Linked DNA regions of Homo sapiens: region 2 is linked to region 1. The links are contacts of gene promoters, found by promoter capture Hi-C in blood cells and fetal thymus (Javierre and others, 2016). All regions are on one chromosome and are shown on one strand. Each heading gives the region's core, a stretch centred on a gene start or on the middle of the fragment in contact. The rest is flanking DNA. Distances are from core to core; before and after follow the strand shown.

Region 1 (5,643 bases), core at 1,894-4,393:
CGCTTAATTTCCAATGTGGTTCTGACTCTCTTATTACTCTTTAAAATTTTATAGATTTATGACTACATAAATGTCCACATAATAAAATCTGAAAGATACCAAATATATAATAAAACAAAATTATGTTTGTCATGTTTTGGTAGCTAAGTATATATATGGTGAGGGAAATTATTAAAATATTATAAAATAAACATGTAGACTGGGGAAGACACCTATAACTTCTGTAAAATGAGAGAATGCATAAAGAATTTCACCACCAAAATGTTAAAAACATATATACCATAAAACCACCTTAACAAAATTTAAAAGCAAATGATAAATTAGAATTCAATAAAGAACCTTTAAAAACCAGTAAGAAAAACATGAATAACACAACAGATAAATGGACAAAAGGTAGACAGGCAATTATTCCATAAAAAAGGGAATATATTAAAATGGTATTCAATAGCATTTTAATCTCATGAATATTCACATTAATACAACAGAATTATTTTCTTAAATTGACAAAGAGAAAGTTAGTTATCAGTGCTCACTAGAACATGTTGGGTATAGATACATACATATATACCCATACTTTGTTGGAAGACACTTTGGTAGTATCTATCAATGGCTTCCAACAATTCATTTTTTTTTTTTCTTTTTGAGAAGGAGTTTTGCTCTTGTCCCCCAGGCTGGTATGCAATCTCGGCTCACTGCAACCTCTACCTCCCGGGTTCAAGCGATTCTCCTGCCTCACCCTCCTGAGTACCTGGGAATTACAGGCGCCTGCCACCATGCCCAGCTAATTTTTTTGTACTTTTAGTAGAGATGGGGTTTCACCATGTTGGCCAGGCTGGTATTGAACTCCTGACCTCAGGTGATCCACTCACCTTGGCCTCCCAAAGCACTGGGATTACAGGCGTGAGCCACTGCGCCCGGCCACCTTCCAACAATTCCACTCCTCTTTGTCCCACCAATTCTACTTTTGCTTAGTTATCTTAAGGAAATCATTGTGAAAATATTTGCAACTGTAAGGATGTTTAGCATAATACTGCTTTTCATATTTAAAATCTGTAAGTAGCCCAAACGGGCCAAAACAGGAAACTAGTTAATTCACTTATGATATAACCACAGGATGGAAAACCAGAAAGTCATTACAAACAGTTCATAGACTATTTAGTGAAATGAAAAAACTGTAACTGCAGATTTTTTAAAATTCTTTCGAATAGCTAATATATTTACATGGTTCAAAAATCTAAGCAATATGTGCACACAACTGAGAATTCTCACCATCACCAACTTCTATAAATAACCAATCTTTCTTACCAAAAAATAGTAACACTGTTCTGCACTGTTTTAAAACTTAATGATAAAAATTTGCCATAATAAATTTTCAGTTTGGAAGAAGGTTATACAATAGCAACATAGCAAATAAACTTATTTTTTAAAAACTGTGCAGAAAAAAAGACTGAAAGTTTATAAACCAAAAACTGATGAATTACGTTTTAATTTTCTTCTTTGTTGACTATTTTTTTTTTTTTGAAACTGAGTTTCACTCTTATTGCCCAGGCTGGAGTGCAGTGGCGCAATCTCGGCTCACTGCAACCTCCACCTCCCGGGTTCAAGCGATTCTCCTGCCTCAGCCTCCCAAGTAGCTGGGATTACAAGCGCCTGCCACCATGCCTGGCTAATTTTTCTATTTTTAATAGAGACGGGGTTTTGCCATGTTGGCCAGGCTGGTCTCGAACTCCTGACCTCAAGTGATCCACCCGCCTCAGTCTCCCAAAGTGCTAGGATTACAGGTATGAGCCACCGTGCCCGGCCATGACTATCTTTATTTTCCAAATTTGAGTACTGAGCATGAAATTCTTTAATCAGTTATTTAAATTAAAAGAAAATAAAACTAGAAGCTGATGTTTAAATTATGCTTACCTGCTTCAGGTTTGTTCAAGTCATATATGCGTAACAGTTTATCCTGTCCCCCGGTTAACAAATAATTACTATCCTGAAAACACAAAGTAAAATGTGAATAGATTAACCATTTTAATAGTTATTTCTCTTTCAAATTTCAACACCAAATAAAATCAAAATCTAGCTCACAGACATCACAAAGAGATGCCAAGACATAACCAATTACTTCTGAGAAGATACTGTGGAACAGCTGACCTCTCATAACTGCCAAGACTTGTAAGCTTTCCACTTCAAAAGCGTTACACTACACTACATATACATGAACTCTCCCATTCTCCCCTGATCCTACTCCTCTCCCTTGTGAGAGGCCCTTTTCTGATTATCTCAAATTTATCTTCTCCCTTCTATTAGTAGTTGGGGAAGGCTACTTGAGCTTTTCAGATGTTTTTTACATGTTGAAGGACTGGTACTCGTTCCACAGTATCTTAAAAGCTTGACAGGATTAACTATGAAACAAATTCATAGAGCTTAATACACAATCAAATCAAATATGAACCAAGAAATAACAAATATTCCACACAAAACATATCAATCAAATATACACACCAATCAAGTATAAAAGCATTATCACACTATGTACCAGCAACTTAACTCGCTAAAATAAATTCCATTTTCTGATACCTGCGTGAAATCCACAGTCTTGACAATGTGTTTATGAGCCAGGGTCATCAATTCATCTCCTGAGACAGCATCCCACACTTTGCTAAAAGTAAAAAAGAGAAAATTAGTAGGATAAATATTACCCAATATATTAAAAGGATAAATACAATTATAATATTGATGAGTACCAAATAAGTTAGATATGTGAAATGTTACATAAATGTATTATAAATCTCCTTTATCTCTAATATCCCTCACAGACTTCATTTGATAAAATATTTAAATAAGCTTAAGGGAAAAGAAATTTCTCTGTAAAAACTTTATAACCAATCTAATTTTCTTTGACAGTGGAAAAGATATGAACAATTTAAGCAAGTAAGATTCATGAACCAACCCATCCTCCTTACTTTTATTTTAGCTGACAGCCATAATATCCCTTTAGCAAGCCTGTCATACATTTTAACCAATTTTTAGTTTCACCATGCCAATTTTTTCTCTATTCTCCACTCAGATGCACAATAAAAAATAAAAATAAATAAAAAAACCAGAAATCCTTAAAAATGTTACAAGGGAATGAAAAGCCTTGGTACAGGCTAAGTAAAATTTTAAATTAAGATAGTGGAGAGACAATGTCCACTTCATCTCTTCTTCAAAGCTGACTTAAAATTTCAAACTCTAGTACAGTTAACTTCCCCCAAACTATCAGCCTTTGATTATATAATGCTAACACTGACTATTTTAATCTTTACATTGTTTTTTCTGTCCCACCCCACCCCAAAATACAAGTTGGTTATAGGTATACATACATTTATATGTGTATGTATATTCTGGGCGGGTAATAGTTGAGCAATACTTTACAAAATTACTCTAAAAGGGTTCCCCCAAATAAAAAAGCTTAAGGAAGGGGGAAAAAAAAGTTGATTTTAGATCAGAACAGGTCAGTGAAAAATAAACAAGAAAACTTTGCAGACAGGGAAAAGAATTGCTAAGAGTGAAAAAGCTATGTTCCATAGAGATTTCCATTTTAATGCAACTGCTATTTATTTTCAGGAACACAGTGGGCAATAAAATGGTAGAGGGAAAAAAATCAGAGAAAAGCAAGATGTATCTTTTCTTTTGCTTACCCCAATACATAATAAAATATATTAAATATATATCATTCTATACTTAGTGCTAAGGCACAAATGGGAGACAAAAAATACCCCACAGTAGGTTCTTGCCATAGTAGAGCTTTAGCTGAGGAGAAAAACATGCATTAAATATCACATTTAAGAAATATAATTAAAAGACATATATATGGCTATAAAAACTCAGAAAAAAGCACCTAGATATTGTCCAGAAAATGTAAGTAACAGAGCTAGCCGTCGGAAGAAGCAAAGAGAAATATATCAGGGGAAAAAGAAGGGAAGGCTATTCTAGATAAGCATTAATAGCATGTGCAATGTGGTTAATGAATATGAAAGACCATCTAACAGGAATGCTCATGATACACTACCAAAGCTTGCAATATTTAATAATGTGGGTCATGTGAGTGGCTGAATAAATATGTTCTGAAAGAAATAATGTCAACTATAAGTAGCCTTGCTGCTAAACTCCCTAGTATTCATTTCTCTTTGCCCAGGAAACTTGCTCCTCTCTCTGTCATTCCAATGCAACTCTCTGGCCCCAATCTACTTTCCCAACCTCATTTTGTATTGTTTCTCTGAATCTAGCAACACTAGATTATAAACCACTCCTCAAATAACTTACGTATTTTCTTCCAGGCTCCTATGTTCTTGTTTATATTATTCTCTTAAGTCTGTATTTTACATTCTTAGCTATTAAAGTTCTACTCACCCTTAGGGCTCATTTCAAATGCTATCTTTTCTTTGAAACTATTTATCCTCAACTCCAATAATTAACCATTCCTTTCTGTTCTCCCACAGAACTCCACTTATTACGGTGCTTAAATTTGCTTTGTTTTTTGTTTACATATATCCTTAATCACAGTGAAATGCATTTCATGGTTGTGGTAAGGGTTCACAAGTATTAGAATGACAGAAAGCATCAAAAGTGAAGAAAACAACAAATGTATCTAAAATTACTATTCTAATTATTCACAAGTCTCCAAAGAAACCCGGGCAATGTCCTTTGATATGCTAATTTCAAGTTTATTAAATAATCTCCCATAAACTTAAAACCTCTCTCTCTTTTTTTTTTTGAGACAGGATCTTGGTATATTGCCCAAGCTATACTTGAACTCCTGGCCTCAAGATCCTTCCACCTCAGCCTCCTAAGTAGCTACAGGCTAACGCCAACATGGCAGCTCTAAAATCTTAAGATTCTGCTTAGACTGTGTCTATTCAAAGGTGAGAAGAGAGTTGGAGTGACCAAAGTAGTAATATTAACCAGAGAGGTAATGTGTCTGTAGTTTTTCCTCCTATTTAGAAACAGTACTAAAATAGAGGCATGACATTTTCTGACAGGGCATGTACTAACTCTGGCAGATTTCCATTATTCACAGTAAGAGCCCTAAAATGGATCTAATCTAAATGTTTCCTAATGTATTATTCAATCTCCAGGCAAGAAATTGACATATATTAGTTGGCCACAGGGCTCAAATCAAGACAGTAAAGCGCTATTAACAATACCCTTTCAGCAGCTAACCCTCCAACATTTTCTTCACATCCCACGAAGTACTTGTCATCTCCTTAAACTACTGTTACCTCTTATACCCCAGTTTCTTGCAAATAATAATGCTGCCTGATACTTTCCATATCCTCAGAATGAACTTACCGTAAGTCTCATAATAGGAGCTGCTTAACTTACTTATTTAAACCTTCAACAAAACAGGCCAGTTTAAGATTTTTAAAAAATTGCCCAAATACCTTAACATGTTGACCAAGTCATCTAGGAGATAATACCATTTTCGATTTATCAAGAACCTTATTAAAACTAAAATTAGATATTTCTATTGGCTTTACAAGAAAGAAAGAGTGATACATTGTGATTACCTATAAATTCCTGGACCCAATCCCAGATCTACTTAAGCCCTCTTGGGAGCACAGCACAGAATTGTCTTTACTTTGGCACTCTTCCCAAATAGATACAAAG
Region 2 (6,014 bases), core at 3,280-5,779, 1.1 Mb after region 1:
TTTAGTAGAGATGGGGTTTCGCTGTGTTGGCCAGGCTGGTCTTGAACTCCTGGCCTCAAGTTATTCACCTGCCTGGGCCTCCCAAAGTGCTGGGATTACAGGCCTGAGCCACCATGCCCGGCCCCTTATTCTTTAATACTTTTGTAAAATGGCATTTTTTTTCTGACGTTCACTCTAGTTTATCTAAATAATGCCCAAGTGCGATACTATTTAGACTATTCTAAATAATTTAATTTATAAGCTTTGCAAATGGAGAATAATCACATGATTATCTGATTAACACTGTGCCCTGTATAGTGCCTACCTTCTCCCCACATGAAATTTTAATCCAAAGAGTCTTGAATATATACTCTTATCACAAGAAAAAATTTGTTAAAGATTCTAGCATGATATACATGTTGCCTTTGGATATCCTTTAGGTTTAGAAAACAAATAACTTGCCTGTAGAGATATATAAAGTGACTTGAATATTTTAAGTTAAAATAACCAAGTATTGAAATACAAAAAACAGCCCTGTAAATTTAGAGATGTTAATATTTATCTGGCCCTGACTAGAGTTTAACTCCAAATGCTAGAGAAATCAGTCTGGTAGGTGTGGTCAATGTGGTGACTAGGGGTTCGGGAAACTAAGGAGCACTAGTAATCAAGAGCTAAGCATTTCAAATTGGGGTCTGTTTCAAATAAAAGTTATTAAATATTACCTAGAAATAATCACGCTTATTAATAAACAGATGCTTGACAAACGATGAATATTTCTCACCACCACAAAATCTAATAACTTAATTTATCCATCAAAGGGTTGTATTCTGTTGCCTACACTTTCCATACACTGACTCCAAATTTCATAAAAATAACTGTTTTAAAGAACCTGCTGAGGGCGGGCACAGTGGCTCACGCCTGTAATCCTAGCACTTTGGGAGGCCAAGGCAGGTGGATTACCTGAGGTCAGGAGTTGGAGACCAGCCTGGGCAACATGATGAAACCCTGTCTCTACTAAAATACAAAAATCTAGCTGGGCATGGCAGTGTATGCCTGTAATCCCAGCTACTCGGGAGGCTGAGGCAGGAGAATTGCTAGAGCCTGGGAGGCAGAGGTTGCAGTGAGCTGAGATCGCACCACTGCACTCCAGCCTGGGTGACACAGCGATACTCCCTCTTTTAAAAAAACTTGTTGAGTGTTCTGAGGAATTATCCTTAGACAGCATCTTGCTTCTTTGCTATGCATGAAGAAAAAGATTTCCTAGTCCCTTCTACACAGTTAGCAGACATTTTTTAAGACTTTCAGTAAAAATTTACCATTTTATTTTTCAGCGATCATATTGGAAATATGGCCCAAAGTGACTTCCTTTACCCAGAGAACCCAAAAAGGCGGGAAGAAGTAAATCGTCTTCACCAGCAGCTTCTTGATTGCTTATCTGACAGCTTCGATGTCACCAATAAGCTGACTGAGGTTCTAAATATGCACTTGGGGTGCAGGCTGGCCTCCATTGAGATGAAAAGAGATGGGACCATCAAAGAAAACTGTGACCTCATCATCCAAGCCATTATGAAAATCCAAAAGGAATTGCAGAAGGTTGATGAAGCACTAAAAGATAAGCTAGAGCCAACCCTCTATAGAAAACTTCAGGATATTAAGGAAAAGGAAACAGACAAAATTGCAATAGTGCAAAAGGTTATTTCGGTCATCCTGGGAGAAGCTACATCTGCAGCCAGTGCAGTCGCTGTTAAACTTGTGGGCTCAAATGTCACAACTGGCATAATTAACAAGTTGGTCACTGTGTTAGCTCAAATTGGTGCTTCTCTCCTTGGTAGTATTGGAGTTGCTGTTCTTGGCCTTGGCATAGATATGATTGTCCGTGCCATCCTGGGAGCAGTGGAAAAAACACAGCTTCAAGCAGCCATCAAAAGTTATGAGAAGCATCTGGTGGAGTTCAAATCAGCCTCAGAAAAATATAATCATGCCATTACTGAGGTCATCAATACAGTGAAACACCAAATGAAATGAACAGCCGTTTTATTTGCCACTGAAGTGTTTTTCTGCTTCCTTTTCAGTAACAGTGTTTGCTTCTTTGATTAGGTTCATTTTCTATAGGCTTCCAATATGGACTTAAATAAGATAAACAATTTGGAGAGGGAAACTGGAGATGCCAAGACTAGATGACTAGATGAGTTTTGAGTCAACAATGCCTGGATCAGCTGATGCTAGACCCTGTGAGGTAAAAAAATTTTCTCCCTGGATGTTTTCACACCCTGCTCTACCAGATCAACATTGGGGTAAATGCTATCGTAGAGTAGCAAGTATAGGGGTTACTTTTCTCTTTTCTAATTTCAGTAAAATTCTTAAATTTCACATTGAATGCAGAGACTTTCATTTCTACCACCAGCTTCAAACATCATTTAGTTATAAGGGGACATACTCAGTAACTTCTGCCTAGACACAAACTCTAGGCCTTCGAATGAGACAGAAATACTACCATATTTTTGACCATCAGAGTAAATCTGGTTTTCTGTAAACTAGAAGAGACTGAAAAATGGTTTGTAACAATGTGCTTCAATTAGGACAGGAAGCTGATCTGTAAACGTCTACTGATTACACAATGTAAACCGGATGGATTTGAAAATGGTAAAAATCAAAACTAAAAACATCAAGGTCCTGTTTCAGTCACTGCAATCAACCCTGACCAACTGTGATAATTAAATATCGCTCAAGTGAATGTTCAAACACTGAAACATTTAGAAGACAAGAAAGCAAAACACAGCTACACATATTGCATTTAGGATGCAGAATAGAAGGTCACTACTCAAAGCATTTGTCATTTAAAAGAAAGTCATAATTTATTATAAGCTTTCAGAAAAAAGAATATAATTTCATTTTCAACACTAGCAAAAAGGAGGCAGCTGCCTTTGCTACATGACGCATTAGGTGGGCCATTTCACTAATTACCTGATTTTAGAAAACGCCAAAGGCTATGGAAGCCTATTAATGGTTCCGCTGAATCTCTGCAGATGTGTTTGTTTTCTAAATCCTTTGCCAACCAATAATTCCCATGAGGACTCTTTTAGTCTATACTGACAAAATTATTAATATGCTGTTGATGCCAGACTGTGTTTGTTATAGTTGATTCTCCCATCCAAGTACAAGAAATGTATTGAAATAAAAACTGCTCAGCATATCTTAAAAATAGTAGCTACATATAAAATTTTAGCTACATGAAAGACTTTAATATTTCCAACATACACTGTTTTCTCTTTCTCTTCTTGCATTGTTTTTCAAAACGAGTTGCAAAACTATGATCACTAATGTGTTAGGAAAGAAAAAAAACTAGTTGCAAAACATTACAACTTAGCTCACCTTCGCAGTTCAAGATTATTTTCTTTTTTATGTACTACCTGGTTTATCAGCTTTAACCTACAATATCTCGTCATTGCTTTCTGACACTCAAATTCAGTCTAAAATCAAATCAAGAATTTCCTAACACAAAGGTAAGTTTAGGTATAGGACCGATCTTATACCTTCAAGGGCAGTTTAAAGATTCTGCTAAAAATTAGTATGTATCTCCATCAATATTTTGAAATATTTATAACTGGTGGTAAGAATAGCCTTCCTACATGGGATAGTCAGGTTAAGATTAGAAATAACCAAGCGTATCCTCTAAGATAGTTTTTTAAATGTTTAAACTTACCTTTAAGGGAAATAAGTGGGGGCTGACTCACGGAAAGAGGGGATAGAAGGTAGGGAAAGGGCGAAGGCTAGAGTTAAGTGAAGAATCCCGTACGTAGAGTGACATCATAGAGGACTTTTGGCTGGTGAAAAGACCAGTCGGGAATATAGCCAATATATATCAACCTTGCCACTCATATAACTTAAAACCGACTGCATATGTATCCCCGTATTTCTTCTTCAAAACACTACTAACAAATAATAAATCACCGCCCATATAAGCAATCTGCGACTCTAATACGGGTGCTAATTTATTTGTTCAGGTGGTCTACAAACGTTCTGTTCTGCCTGTCTATTAAATTTCCACACGTACTAGGCGCTCACATGGGATAACCTGATGCTTACAAAGCGGATTAAACTCAGTGGCAAATGTTATCTGGGTATTCGTTTACACACGGAGACACCCCTAAAGGATCGCACCTGCTTGGGTCATAAGAAACAGAAAAATGCAAAAACTAAGGTAATTCCAAAAGACAGAAAACGCAGAACGCTTCTTTATCTGCAGAATGTACCGTTCTCGGACGGCTCAACGTACCAGGCTCCCAGCAACTAAGTCAAGATGCCTCCAACTCGAGAGACAGGACCGTCAGCCACTCAGTTAGCAGCTATCTTCTTCTAATTCCTATTGTACTAGATGAGCGCAATGAGGCGGGCTCTTAGCCGACAACCAACCAATTGAGTATTGTATGGAACCGGAAGAGACTCTGGTCCTGGAATTCTTGGGTATTCTCTATGGTTCCAGGGTCAAGCGGCGCTAAGAGAAGGCGGGACAGAGGAATGGGAAATGACGTGAGGAGTGCGGAGGGGCGCGAGGTTTCAAGATGGCGGTAGCTGAGGGGTTGACCGAGAGACCCAGTTGAAGGCCTTTACGAAGTGAAAGAGGCCGGGAGTCGCCCCCTACCCGCTTCTCGTAGTCCTGGGAGCACAGCAGAAGTGTGAGTGTATTGAATTGATTTACTACTCTTCCTCACCTCTTTCGTCCCTTCCACGTCCCGCGCAGCGGCTTGGGGGACACCCAGCCCCTTTGCCCCGCTCCTCCTCTCCCTGGTTGAGGTCTCCCTGTTGCGGACTGGGCTATTCCTGGGCCTGGGGTGGCGCGGCGACCAGTGGTTGCGCGGTTGGCATCGCCCGGGTCGGTTGGGGCCGCTTCTTACGCACGTTGATTAGTAGCCTTAGGTTTGACGTCTTGTACCTCGAGTCATGGTCGGTCAGCCGTCGCTATGGTTTCGTCAGTTGCTGGTGTTGCCTCCTTTGGTGAACCTGGACCCTATCCCATTGAAGCTTCTTTGGCTGTTTAGAGTTATCCAACGCTTATTTGGCTTGATTTTCCAGTCGCCTCCGCTTGTAGACAAAAAACTAATCTGCAGACTTAAGCTCCAGTGTCTTCCGTAAAATTCTCTGTAATTCGTATCCGTTGTGTTTCATTTGTGGGGGAGGAGATTCAGAACATGAGCCTGAGGAAACTTGAGAAAGGAAAGCACAAAAAACGCAGGCAATCAAAGATGGGAGAGCTTGTATATGTACTGATTTTGCTTGTTTTCCTCCTTCCCTACCTCCTACTCCCTGCTGCTCTCCCACCCCCCTAACCCCCCCATCCCCAGTTTTTCTTAGAAGGAAACCACTTGACAGGGTGTATGGTAGCTAGGCCAGGAATATGGATCCATTATAAAGATTTTAGTTAAGTAGTGAGTCAAACATCACAGGATATTTTATTTGTAATCTCATTGTATCATCAGAGCTTTGTTATAAAGTAATTGATGTCCCCATTTTTTAGATGAGGAAGCTAAAAATCAGAGCCTTTGATACCGCTGTCTTGAAGTAATTGCCACCAGAACAGCTGTGAAACATCTGGCTTTCTGAAACATCTGGCTTTCGGGGCAGTTGGACACTTGGTGAAAGAGACATTAACTGTAATAAACTGGGCTGACAAAATCTTCCCTTTCTTACCTTTAAAAAGTGTCTACTTGCAAAAGGAAGCAAATTTGTCCGCCTTTATTACTGGAAAGACTGCGCTTCAAAAAATTAAGCCCCATTATTTTGGAATAAGAGGAAGAAGTCATGTAATAGGGTACTGTGTTAATAAAAGTTTTAGCTTACAAAATATTTTTTCCTCAAACAAAAATAAGTATTCCCTTTAATTACCTTAAGAAATATATATTGGGAGTCAGGTCTTAGTAAGAAAAATATGTGTCTTAATATTTAAGTTTTGGGGAGCTCTCAGTATAGCACTAATTTCAAATATTTGCATTTTTAGTTGTGTTTTGAACTCTTGAGAGTCAAGCATTATATCTGAA

The links. The method cuts DNA at HindIII sites, captures the fragments that hold promoters and counts their contacts. A CHiCAGO score of 5 or more calls a contact.
Region 2: the fragment with the promoter of WBP11 here is called in contact with a fragment that was not itself captured in region 1 in 11 of 17 cell types (non-activated CD4 T cells, total CD8 T cells, naive CD8 T cells and 8 more); the score reaches 15.8 in non-activated CD4 T cells.

The regions. Positions count from the first base shown.
Region 1 is chr12:15,886,938-15,892,580 of GRCh38, reverse strand. It overlaps STRAP (serine/threonine kinase receptor associated protein), which reads right to left. Exons shown (of 10, transcript NM_007178.4): 3 at 2,572-2,653; 4 at 1,912-1,984. Among named protein-coding and RNA genes, the nearest start is that of STRAP, 7.4 kb to the right of the region's middle. The HindIII fragment of the contact is 606 bases long and covers 2,841-3,446 here.
Region 2 is chr12:14,801,993-14,808,006 of GRCh38, reverse strand. WBP11 (WW domain binding protein 11) reads left to right here and starts at 4,529. Exons shown (of 12, transcript NM_016312.3): 1 at 4,529-4,655. C12orf60 (chromosome 12 open reading frame 60) reads right to left here and starts at 4,337. Exons shown (of 2, transcript NM_175874.4): 1 at 4,256-4,337. SMCO3 (single-pass membrane protein with coiled-coil domains 3) reads left to right here. Exons shown (of 2, transcript NM_001013698.2): 2 at 1,311-3,357. The coding sequence starts at 1,327. The coding sequence ends at 2,004. RefSeq lists an enhancer at 3,994-4,233. The HindIII fragment of the contact is 2,157 bases long and covers 2,847-5,003 here.